Regions from separate parts of the Homo sapiens genome. Here region 2 is linked to region 1. The links are contacts of gene promoters, found by promoter capture Hi-C in human tissues and cell types (Jung and others, 2019). All regions are on one chromosome and are shown on one strand. The core of a region is centred on a gene start or on the middle of the fragment in contact, and the rest is flanking DNA. Distances in the headings are between cores, read along the strand shown.

Region 1 (4,600 bases), core at 1,882-4,381:
ACTATCCAACGTAATAAAGATAATGTCTCCCTCTTGGACAAGAGCAGGTTTGCTTGCAGCCCATTATAAAAGATTCTGGTTTCCTTATCTCAGGGATTCTCAGCTGTGCTGCAAACCCATTGTGTGTGCAACACTCACCTGGGCCTCTCTGTATCACTCTCATGGGGCTTGAGGAGTAAAGAGAAGTGACACAAACATGATGCCTATGTTGCTTGCTGCACCATGAGTAATAAAGTCCTTTGTCTCTGATCCAGTAGTCTTGTGTCTTCTACCAGCATCCACAGAACTATGGCAGTTTCATTGGTTAGCTTGTAAGGAGAGCAAAATCTGCACAGTTCTTAACAAAAGATGACTTTGAACTTGGGGGCATGGGAAGTTGAAGGTCACTCCTGATGGGCTGCATTTTCTCACAGGTATGGCTGGGAAAAGAGGAGGCTTGAGGAAAGAAGTAAGTTCTAGAATCATTGTTGAGCAGGATAGAAGCTGGAGCTGAGCAAGGATAAGGAAATGGCTGATGTTGAGAGCCAGCTGAGGCCAAACTTGTGTTCCCAATTCACACTCTGGAATGAGCTACACCTGACCCCTGACCCCTGCAGCACTCAGCCAGGCCAGGGACAGGCAGCACAGGAGAGGCAGAGGCAAGAGTGAATCCAGGTCAGAGTTTTGCTGGGAAGAAAGCCAGGAACACAAGAGAATCTGGGTTACTGATGCAGGAGTAGCTCAGATTATAACCCAGGGAGTCCTGCCTAGATAGGAAAGAAAGCTGCTGAGAGAGGGTTGGCCCACTGGGAGAAAAGGGAAGGATGGAGACCCTGGAGGTCCTGTGAGGCTGAAGATGGGAGGAAGGAGAACTCCAGGTGGGTGGATAGGAGATCTTGGTGTGAGGGGAGTACTGCCATTTAAGGCATTGGAGGTGGACCTGGATTATTAACACAGATAGGGGGTTAACTCCCACACAGGAGGAGAGCACCCTCTCCCCAGCTCTTAAGACTGGAGTCCTGAGGCCTGGCGCAGTGGCTCGCACATGTAATCCCAGCAGTTTGGGAGGCCAAGGTGGGCAGATCACCTGAGGTCAGGAGTTTGAGACCAGCCTGGCCAACGTGGTAAAGCCCCCATCCCTACTAAAAATACAAAAAAAAAAAGCTGGGCATGGGGGTGCACTCCTGTAATCCCAGCTACTGGGGAGGCTGAGGCAGGAGAATCGCTTGAACCTGGGAGGTGGAAGTTGCAGTGAGCCGAGATCACGCCTCTGCACTCCAGCCTGGGTAACAGGCTGTTTCAAAAAAAAAAAAAAAAAAAAAGACTAGAGTCCCGGCAGGGAGAGGCTGGGCTGTGTGTGGGGGCCAAGTTTGTAGGTTTGTAAGTGGAAGTTGAATAAATTACTAATGAATGATTCTCCTTTTCTCCATGAAGTAGAGGGTAAGGCACTTACTGAGAGCAAGGGCTAGGAGGGATATTTATGGGCACAGAGAGAAGGTCTGAGGAAATGTGAGAAGCCAGTGATCAGGGGATAAGTAACATCTACAGGAATTTTGACAAGTAAACCCATAAAGATTGAAATGAAAGTCGTGACACCATAAATTCCAAGTAGTGCCCATCTGCGGGGTAGCAAGATGAGTCTGGCTCTGCTGAGCAGTCTTGGGGTGAAGGAAAGAACTGGCCCAATGTGAGTGACCTCCAGTGACCCTGACTTGGTAGGAGTACTGAGACTGGATGGACTGAATGGCCATTCCTGACCACAGGCCCAGGCCCTGGGAGGTTTTCGGGAAGCCTTGCAATCAGACAGGTACCTGTTGCTGCACCCAGACTTCCTCGGATACATGAAGAACAGATTAGAGCCAAAGGCCCGTGACACGGTAGCCTAGGTCCCTCTCATCCTTGCAGCCTGCTGACAGTTGGGAGTCTGGGGCATGTCACAGCCTGCCGCATGTCACAGCTTGCCGAACAGTGGCCACTGAAGCACACCCATCTCATCCATCACTCACTGCCAGGGAGTGTTCCACTTAGAGAGCACGGGTGCTGAGCTTCCCAGCCCTTTCTGATGCTGGAGCCTGCTAGACCAGGGGTCCCCAATCCCAAGCCTGGTCCGAGACCTGTTAGGAACAGGGCATCGCAGCAGGAGGTGAGTGGAGGGGGAAGGAGCATTACCGCCTGAGCTCCGCCTCCTTCAGATCAGCCTCGGCATTAGAGTCTCAAAGGAGTGCGAACCCTTTTGTGAAATGCGCATGCCAGGGATCTAGGTTGCGGGCTCCTTATGAGAGCATCTTAACTCATGCCTGATGATCTGAGGTGGAACAGTTTCATCCCCAACCCCCCCACCCCCACCCCCCTCCGTGGAAAAATTGTCTTCCAGGAAACCAGTCCCTGGTGCCAATAAGTTTGGGAACCCGTTGTGCTGAACATTTCAGGTGGTCTCTCTGACTGGCCTCGTTCTGTGAAAGGAACTCAATGCGATTGAGGGGACTGGCCACCCTGGATGGTTACCAAATAAGCGCTGACAGCCTTAGCTCCCCCACGAAACCCATCACGGCAAGCTCCCCACCTCACCCCCTTTTCCCCCCTCTACCGCCAGCCCAGAGACTGAGCTGTCGGGTTTTGCTCCTCCACCCTGCCCGCCCCCTCCCAGCTGTCCTGGCGTCCGCAGACTGACAGATCTGAGGGTCCTTTGGAGGGAGCCGGGCACATCTCCTCCCGGCCGCCGCCCACCCGCCACAGAGTCTAGAGGCCGAGTGCCGGGCCCGCAGAGGGCAGAGCGCAGCCAGCGCAGCAGGTGGCGGCGTCTACCCGCGCCTAGCTAGCCCCGGACGGCGCGAGGAAAGCGCCCTGCCCAACCCGAGACTGGCGGCCTCCCGGGGCTGGGCTCTGGAGAGAGCGCAGTGGCAGGAGTGGCCGCTGCCGAAGTCCCCCGGGCAGGGGGCAGGGCCAAAGGAGCGCGCGCTCTGGGCGCCGGGACGACACTCCAGCCCCGGGGGACCCGCCGCCCAGCTCCCGAGGGTGCGGCAGCCTCTGGCCACTCAGCCGGGGCCGAGAGGGAGCTGCCGGGCGGGCAGGCGCCGCAGGCACCCGGCGGGCAGGGCGGGGCAGGGCAAGACGGCCGCCTCCGCAAGTGCCACCCGGCCCACCCGGTTCTCTCCCTTCTGCCTGGGACGTCAGCGGACGGGGCGCTCGCGGGCCGGGGCTGTATGGGGCTCCCGCGCGGGTCGTTCTTCTGGCTGCTGCTCCTGCTCACGGCTGCCTGCTCGGGGCTCCTCTTTGCCCTGTACTTCTCGGCGGTGCAGCGGTACCCGGGGCCAGCGGCCGGAGCCAGGTAGGGGCTGCCGAGCGCAGAGCGGGAGGGCGCAGGGGCGACCAGGGCGCGGGGAGGGTCCCCAGCCCAGGGCTCCCCGGCGGCCCGCAGCCCTCAGCCCAACCTCCGCGTGGACCCCTCTGGGGCAGCTCTCAGCGAGGACTCGGCCGCGGCCCTTTGTCGCCAGAACCCTCTCCCAGCCTTGACCTCGCGCTGCCCGGACCCCGCGGCCTTTGCCTGGGTCCAAGGAAGACCTCGCCCCTGTGCACTGGCGACCCGCCCCGGTGCCCCTTGTTGGTGAAGTCCTCCCCGGCCTGATAAGTACACTTTCTATTGTCGAAATCTGGCTGGGTCCCCGAAGCAGATAAAAACTTCCTTTTTTGTCGGGAACTCTCCCTCGGTAACGTCAGATTCTGCTTTTTGGGCAGGGGCCCAAGTCTCCGGTTTCCAACTTCGCGGGGACCCTCCGTCGGGCCGCGGCCAGTCGCCTTTCCCGCCCGCTGCGGTCTCTGTCCGCCCCGCGCCCGCTCCCTTCTCCCCGGCTTCCGCTCGCCGTGTCTGGATAAGCCCAGTGCGGGCGCGATCCGCGAAGAGGCGGGCGCCCGAGGGAAAGAGGGGTGACTCCTGGCTCCATCCGCGTTCTCCTCCCCGCGCCGCGTCCTGCGCTCCACTCCCTCCTCCTCCCTAGGCACTTTCCTGGGTGTCCCACGAGGAGAACCTGGGAGCCGGCCTCTAGCAGGTGGTGGTTCCGGTGACTGAAGAAGCCGCAAAACGATTTCGCTTAGCTTAAGAAAGGCGGACCAAGCCGTGCGAAGTCTGGGTTTGGGAGGAGGGAAGGGCCCGGCAGCCTCAGGGAGAGGCCTCCAGCCCCAGCCTTTCCCTTCCTGGAGCTTTTCCATCTGCGCACCCCCTACCAACCTTGCTGGGGGGCTAACGGGATGAAAACAAAATAAGTATCTGGTCTCCACAGATGCTGTCAAAGGATACACCAAAAGTTGCAGAACAATGTGAAACAGCTTGCCAGTGATCAGGAGTCCAGCACTCTTAGAACAAAGGGTGCTTGCCCCGCCACGGTGACTTAACGCCTGTAGTCCCAGCACTCTGGGAGGCGGAGGTGGGAGGATAGCTTGAGGCCAGGAATTCGAGGCTGTGAGCTGTGATTGCACTACTGCATTCCAGCCTGGTTGACAGAGAGAGACCCTGTCTCAAAAGAAAAGGAATCCTTGTCACTTTTATGTAAAGATGTTTAAAACACAAAGTATCTCAATGCAAAGAAATAATACATGTTTGATATAAGCCTGGGCAACATGGCGA
Region 2 (4,600 bases), core at 797-3,296, 1.6 Mb before region 1:
CAGCCTCCCGAGTAGCTGGGACAACAGGTGCACCGCCCACCATGCCCAGCTAATTTAAAAAAATATTTTCTTTATACAAAAAAATCAGCTGGGCATGGTGGTGCATATCTGTAATCTCAGCTACTCAGGAGGCTGGGTGGAAGAATCCCTTGACCCCAGGAGGCAGAGGTTGCAGTAAGCTGAGATCGAGCCATTTTCTTTTTTTTTTTTTAAGAGATGGGGGTCTCACTGTGTCGGTCAGGCTGGTCTTGAACTCCTGGGCTCAACTGATCCTTTGGCTACAGCCTCCCAAAGTGCGGGATAACAGGCATAAGCCACTGAATGTTCTTATTTTTATTATCATCTGTCCCCCCAACCCCCACTAGAATGTAAGATACAGGAGGGGTTTGTTTCAGTGCCTTGCCACATTCTCAGGGCCTGGAATTGTGCCTGCAACCAAACAGGTGCTCAAGTATTTGTTGAATGAATAAATGATTTATCAGTCAGTCTCTTAGGAGTTTAGTTAGCAGGACTTGGTTGGCAAGAATCAGAGAAGTCGGGAGCCAGCCAAGAGGGGGAGGCGGAACTGCCCTGCACAGGTACTTCCCGGAGCCCCAGCTGCCTGCTCTCTTTTTAGCAGCCACACCAACAATGTATCCGTTTTTAAAGCAAATGAGGAAATAATGGTTCAACCTGGGCCTCATTCAAGTGAGAATGGCGTCATCATTACCCTGTACCTGCCCTTTAGCAAAATAGAGGGGGAAGGCCCTGCTCTGTAACCTGATGGCCTAGCAACAAGGGGCAAGGGTTAGTTGGGACAATATAGGGAGGTGACTGTCCATCCTCACCTTAATGGACATGAGGGGAGGGGAGGGAAGGATGGGGCAAGAAAGTGCAGGCAGAAAGATGGAGCAGGCAAAGATGAGGAAGCAGGCCAGGCTAGGGGCTGTCAGGGACCTTCCCCAGCGTCCCCTCCTCCCTGGTCCTGTACCCAGCTGGGTCCCAGACACTCTCCACTCCCCACCTGCCTCTATAAGGAAGGCAGCCTCGTGTATGTCAGGCCCCTGGGGGAGCCTTAACTTCACCATCCTCTCACGGCCCTCCTCCTGGTCAGAGAATCCCAACCTCCCAGGCCCCACCAGAATTCCCCAGCCCTCCACGGGGCCTCGCCCACCGGGCAGAGCTGTGAGGGTCTCAGGGGGGGCTTCTGCTCCCGATCAGGGACCTGGGGCAGAGTGATGAGGATGCACCTGCCCAGGGAATCTTCCCTCCAAACAGCCCAGCCAAAGGCTGGAAGCTGAGCAACTTCCCTGCCTGTGTGCCCCGGAGGTCCCCACACTGGCCTGCTTGGCCTGCCCATCTCCATCACTCCTAGGGCCCTGCAGGGTGAAGAGAGTGTTCCAGAACTGTCCAGCCATCCTCCAGCACACACCTCCCCACTAGTAACTCCCTTCCCAGCCGAGGCGCCCTCCACCATGGGGGTTCTGACACCAGGGTCCCAGCTGGGGGACTTCTCCCTGCAGCAGGCTATGCCACTTACCTTCCTCCCGTGCCTTGGAGAAGCTGCTGGCAGCTGTAAGAGAGGTAAGGGCGATAAGGAGAGGGCCTGGTGTGGAGGGGAGACCAGAGACAGCCTCGAGACCCACCTGCTGAAGCCAGGAGGGAGGAGCAGGCTGATTCTTGGTAGTGAGGCCCCAGGACTCAGCTGGCACCATCACTCACAAAAGCTCTTTTGCGCCCCTCCCCCCACAACATCGCCTCTCATCCGCCCATTTCGCAGATGGGTAAGTAGTGAGCCCAGAATGGTGCAGAAATCCCTGGACCACATATACAGCAAGTTTAGGGGCTGGTCCGAGACTCAAGCCCAGATCTTTCCCTCTCTGTCCATGTTTCCAGAGGTGCCCTTCCTTCAGGCCTCATCTCTCCTGTGCTCCCAGTACCCCCACCTGAGCCCAAGACCTCAAGGCCCCAGCAGCAGCCCCACCATCACGTCCCTGGTGGACTCACCCAGCACGGCCAAGCAGAACAGCCCAGGGAGCCCCATGCCTCGGTGGGTGTAGGGCCTCTGCTCGGGCAGTGAGAACCTCCTAGTTCCTGGCCTCCCCCACCCTGAGGCCCCTGGGATGCTCCCTGGGTGGGTGCCTGCAGTGGGGAGATAACCTGGAGGCCGCAGCACCCCAGGGCCTCAGCTACCAGGGCGGGGCCCAGAGAGCCCCGGCAGGCCCGGTACAGCAAACTCCCCCTCAATCCCCAGAGAAGTGGAAGGAGTTTGGACCTTGAAGCCAGACCAGGGCTTAGACTCAGCAGTCACCTCTGAGCCGCAGGATCCCGGGCTCACGTGGTGGGCAGAAGGTGTCCATGCTCCGCGGGGCACAGTGGCTCACACCTGTAATCCCAGCACTTTGGGAGGCCTGGATGGGCGGATCACCTGAGGTCAGGAGTTCGAGACCAGCCTGGCCAACATGGCGAAACTCCATCTCTACTAAAAATCAGCCGGGCGTGGTGGCGTGCGCCTGTAATCCCAGCTACTCGGGAGACTGAGGCAGGAGAATTGCTTGAACCCAGGAGGCGGAGGTTGCAGTGAGCCAAGATCACGCTACTGCACTCCAGCCTGGGCAACAGAGTGAGATTCCATCTCAAAAAAAAAAAAAAAAAAAAAGATGTCCACGCTGTAACTTCTGGAGCCCGTGAGCACCATGCTACGCGGCAAGGGGAATGAAGGCTGTGAGTCTTCTCATTTTGAGAGGAGGAGCCCGTCCTACATGACCCAGGTGACCCTCATGTAATCACTGGGGCCTTTCCAAGCAGCTGGGGACCTGCTGGGCTGAGAAAAGGCAGCCCCACCCATGATGGTTCACAGCCGGGAGGCCAAGGCTGCACCCAGCCCCAGAATGAAACCCCAGACCGACGAGGCCCCTGGTCCTGGAGTGTGATGGGTCCTGGAGTCCTGGGTCCCGGAGCGTGGTGTGCCCAAGCACCGCCCTTCAGAAGTCCCTCAGGCCCCACTGAGGGTGGTGGGAGGTCACATGGATGGTCATTCCCCAGGGAACTGGCCCCAGTGCTGGCCTTGGCCAGCAGCAGACCCAGCTGCATCGCAGGCAGTGTGTGTGCAGAGTTCAGCCACAGAGCCTCCTGCACATGCAGGGAGGGTGGGGGTGAGCAGGGCCTCCCAGAGCCCCGAGGCCAGGGCTGGGGCCAGGCATTCCCCGGAACACAGAGAGATGTAAGGGCGCAAGGGATTGAGGCTGGGGCCCTGCCAGCTCCGCTGTGGGCCACTGCACCCGGCTTTGTGCCCAAGCTCAGCCTGGGGCTGCTGGACCAGCCTGTCACTTTCTGGCCCGGCTCAGTTTCCCACACTTTGTGTGGGGAATGCCTTTTCTGGCTGCCTCCTTCAGGAATATGTCCCCTGCCACCAGGTGACCATTGCCTCCTGTGGGAGCTGCTGCCACCTGTGGCTCCTGACCGGTCAATCACACTCTCTGCCCCTGGGCACCGTCCAGGAGTGAACACCTGACCAAGGGAGGCCACTCACAGCCCCGGCCCAGCTCTCCTCTCAGCCTTTCCCAGGCACTTGCTGCACCGGAGGCCTGGGTGTGTTGGGAAGCTGGTCTGAGGGAGTGGCCCTGCTGACCAGGGAGTGGCCAGAAGGATGGTGGGGAGGCAGGTGCAGGTGTCCTGGAGGTCACTGCAGACTGGCTCTGTTGACCCCTCGGTGGCCCCCTCTCCCAGCTGGCATGAGTCCGTTTCTGCACCTTGCTACCCATGGTCCCGGGGATGGAGGCTGCCTCCTGTGCACCCACCGGCCTCTCTGTTTTCGGTTTCTCCCAGCTGGGGAGCAAGAGCATTTTCTCTTAGTTTCTTAGTAAAACTCCCTTCCCTTCCCAAAGTCTGTTCTCACTTCTGCTGAAGGCGGGTGGGGAAGGGAACTGAAGACTGAAGGGAGCCAGAGGTCACTGGGGAGCTGGCTGGCTGCCCAGGCCCTGGGCTGCTGGCAGCCTCTTGCCTGGAGGCCAGGGAAACTCACTCTTTTTCTCCACGTGGTGGTGTTCAGGGGAACCTTGAGTTAAGGCAGCTCATGAGGAGCTCTTCCTCTTCCCAGTCTGTGGGGAAGCTGGGGTCAGAGAGCGAAGGCAGACTCATGGGCCATTTTCCCCAGGCCTTGGGGGACCCAAACATCTCTCCTGCACCCCTCCGCCCCCAGGAATCACTTGTGCACCGGTCTGGCTGACCAGTTCTCTGGGCTGCGCTGCCCCTCTGTCCAGACTGCAGAGTAAGCCAGGACACAGCAGCCACGCCTCCAAGGTCACCCCCAGGTCACCCTGTGTGGAGTTTGGGGGCCCCCAAAAGCTCTCTAGCCACCCGCTTCAGGCTGATGTTCTGTGATTTTTGCTCGCAGAGGCCACTGTCCTCTGTAACAAATGCTCTTCCCAGCGTCTCCGCGTTTCCTCCCCCATACTGTGTCCCCAGAAAGGTCCTGCGGGTGGGACTCTGCTCTGGGCTGCCCTGGCCAGGATAGCGGGGTTGCAGGGGCACAGAAAGACAGGGCAGTCTCTCAGGGCTGGGCAGGGGAGGGCCCAGGAGTCCCCAAGGCTGGGGGTGGCTGGGACACCCCACCTAGGTG

Evidence for each region. The method cuts DNA at HindIII sites, captures the fragments that hold promoters and counts their contacts. A contact is called where the count stands out against the background at its distance.
Region 2: a contact is called between the fragment with the promoter of C17orf99 here and the fragment with the promoter of ST6GALNAC2 in region 1, in 1 of the 25 tissues and cell types used here (aorta).

What each region holds. Positions count from the first base shown.
Region 1 is chr17:76,584,391-76,588,990 of GRCh38, reverse strand. ST6GALNAC2 (ST6 N-acetylgalactosaminide alpha-2,6-sialyltransferase 2) reads left to right here and starts at 3,131. Exons shown (of 9, transcript NM_006456.3): 1 at 3,131-3,307. The coding sequence starts at 3,183. RefSeq lists enhancers at 1,464-2,144, 2,145-2,826 and silencers at 2,695-2,984, 3,035-3,374. The HindIII fragment of the contact is 21,800 bases long and covers 1-4,600 here.
Region 2 is chr17:78,143,831-78,148,430 of GRCh38, reverse strand. C17orf99 (chromosome 17 open reading frame 99) reads right to left here and starts at 2,046. Exons shown (of 5, transcript NM_001163075.2): 1 at 1,987-2,046; 2 at 1,520-1,552. The coding sequence starts at 2,023. RefSeq lists an enhancer at 804-1,023 and a silencer at 4,471-4,540. The HindIII fragment of the contact is 10,351 bases long and covers 1-4,600 here.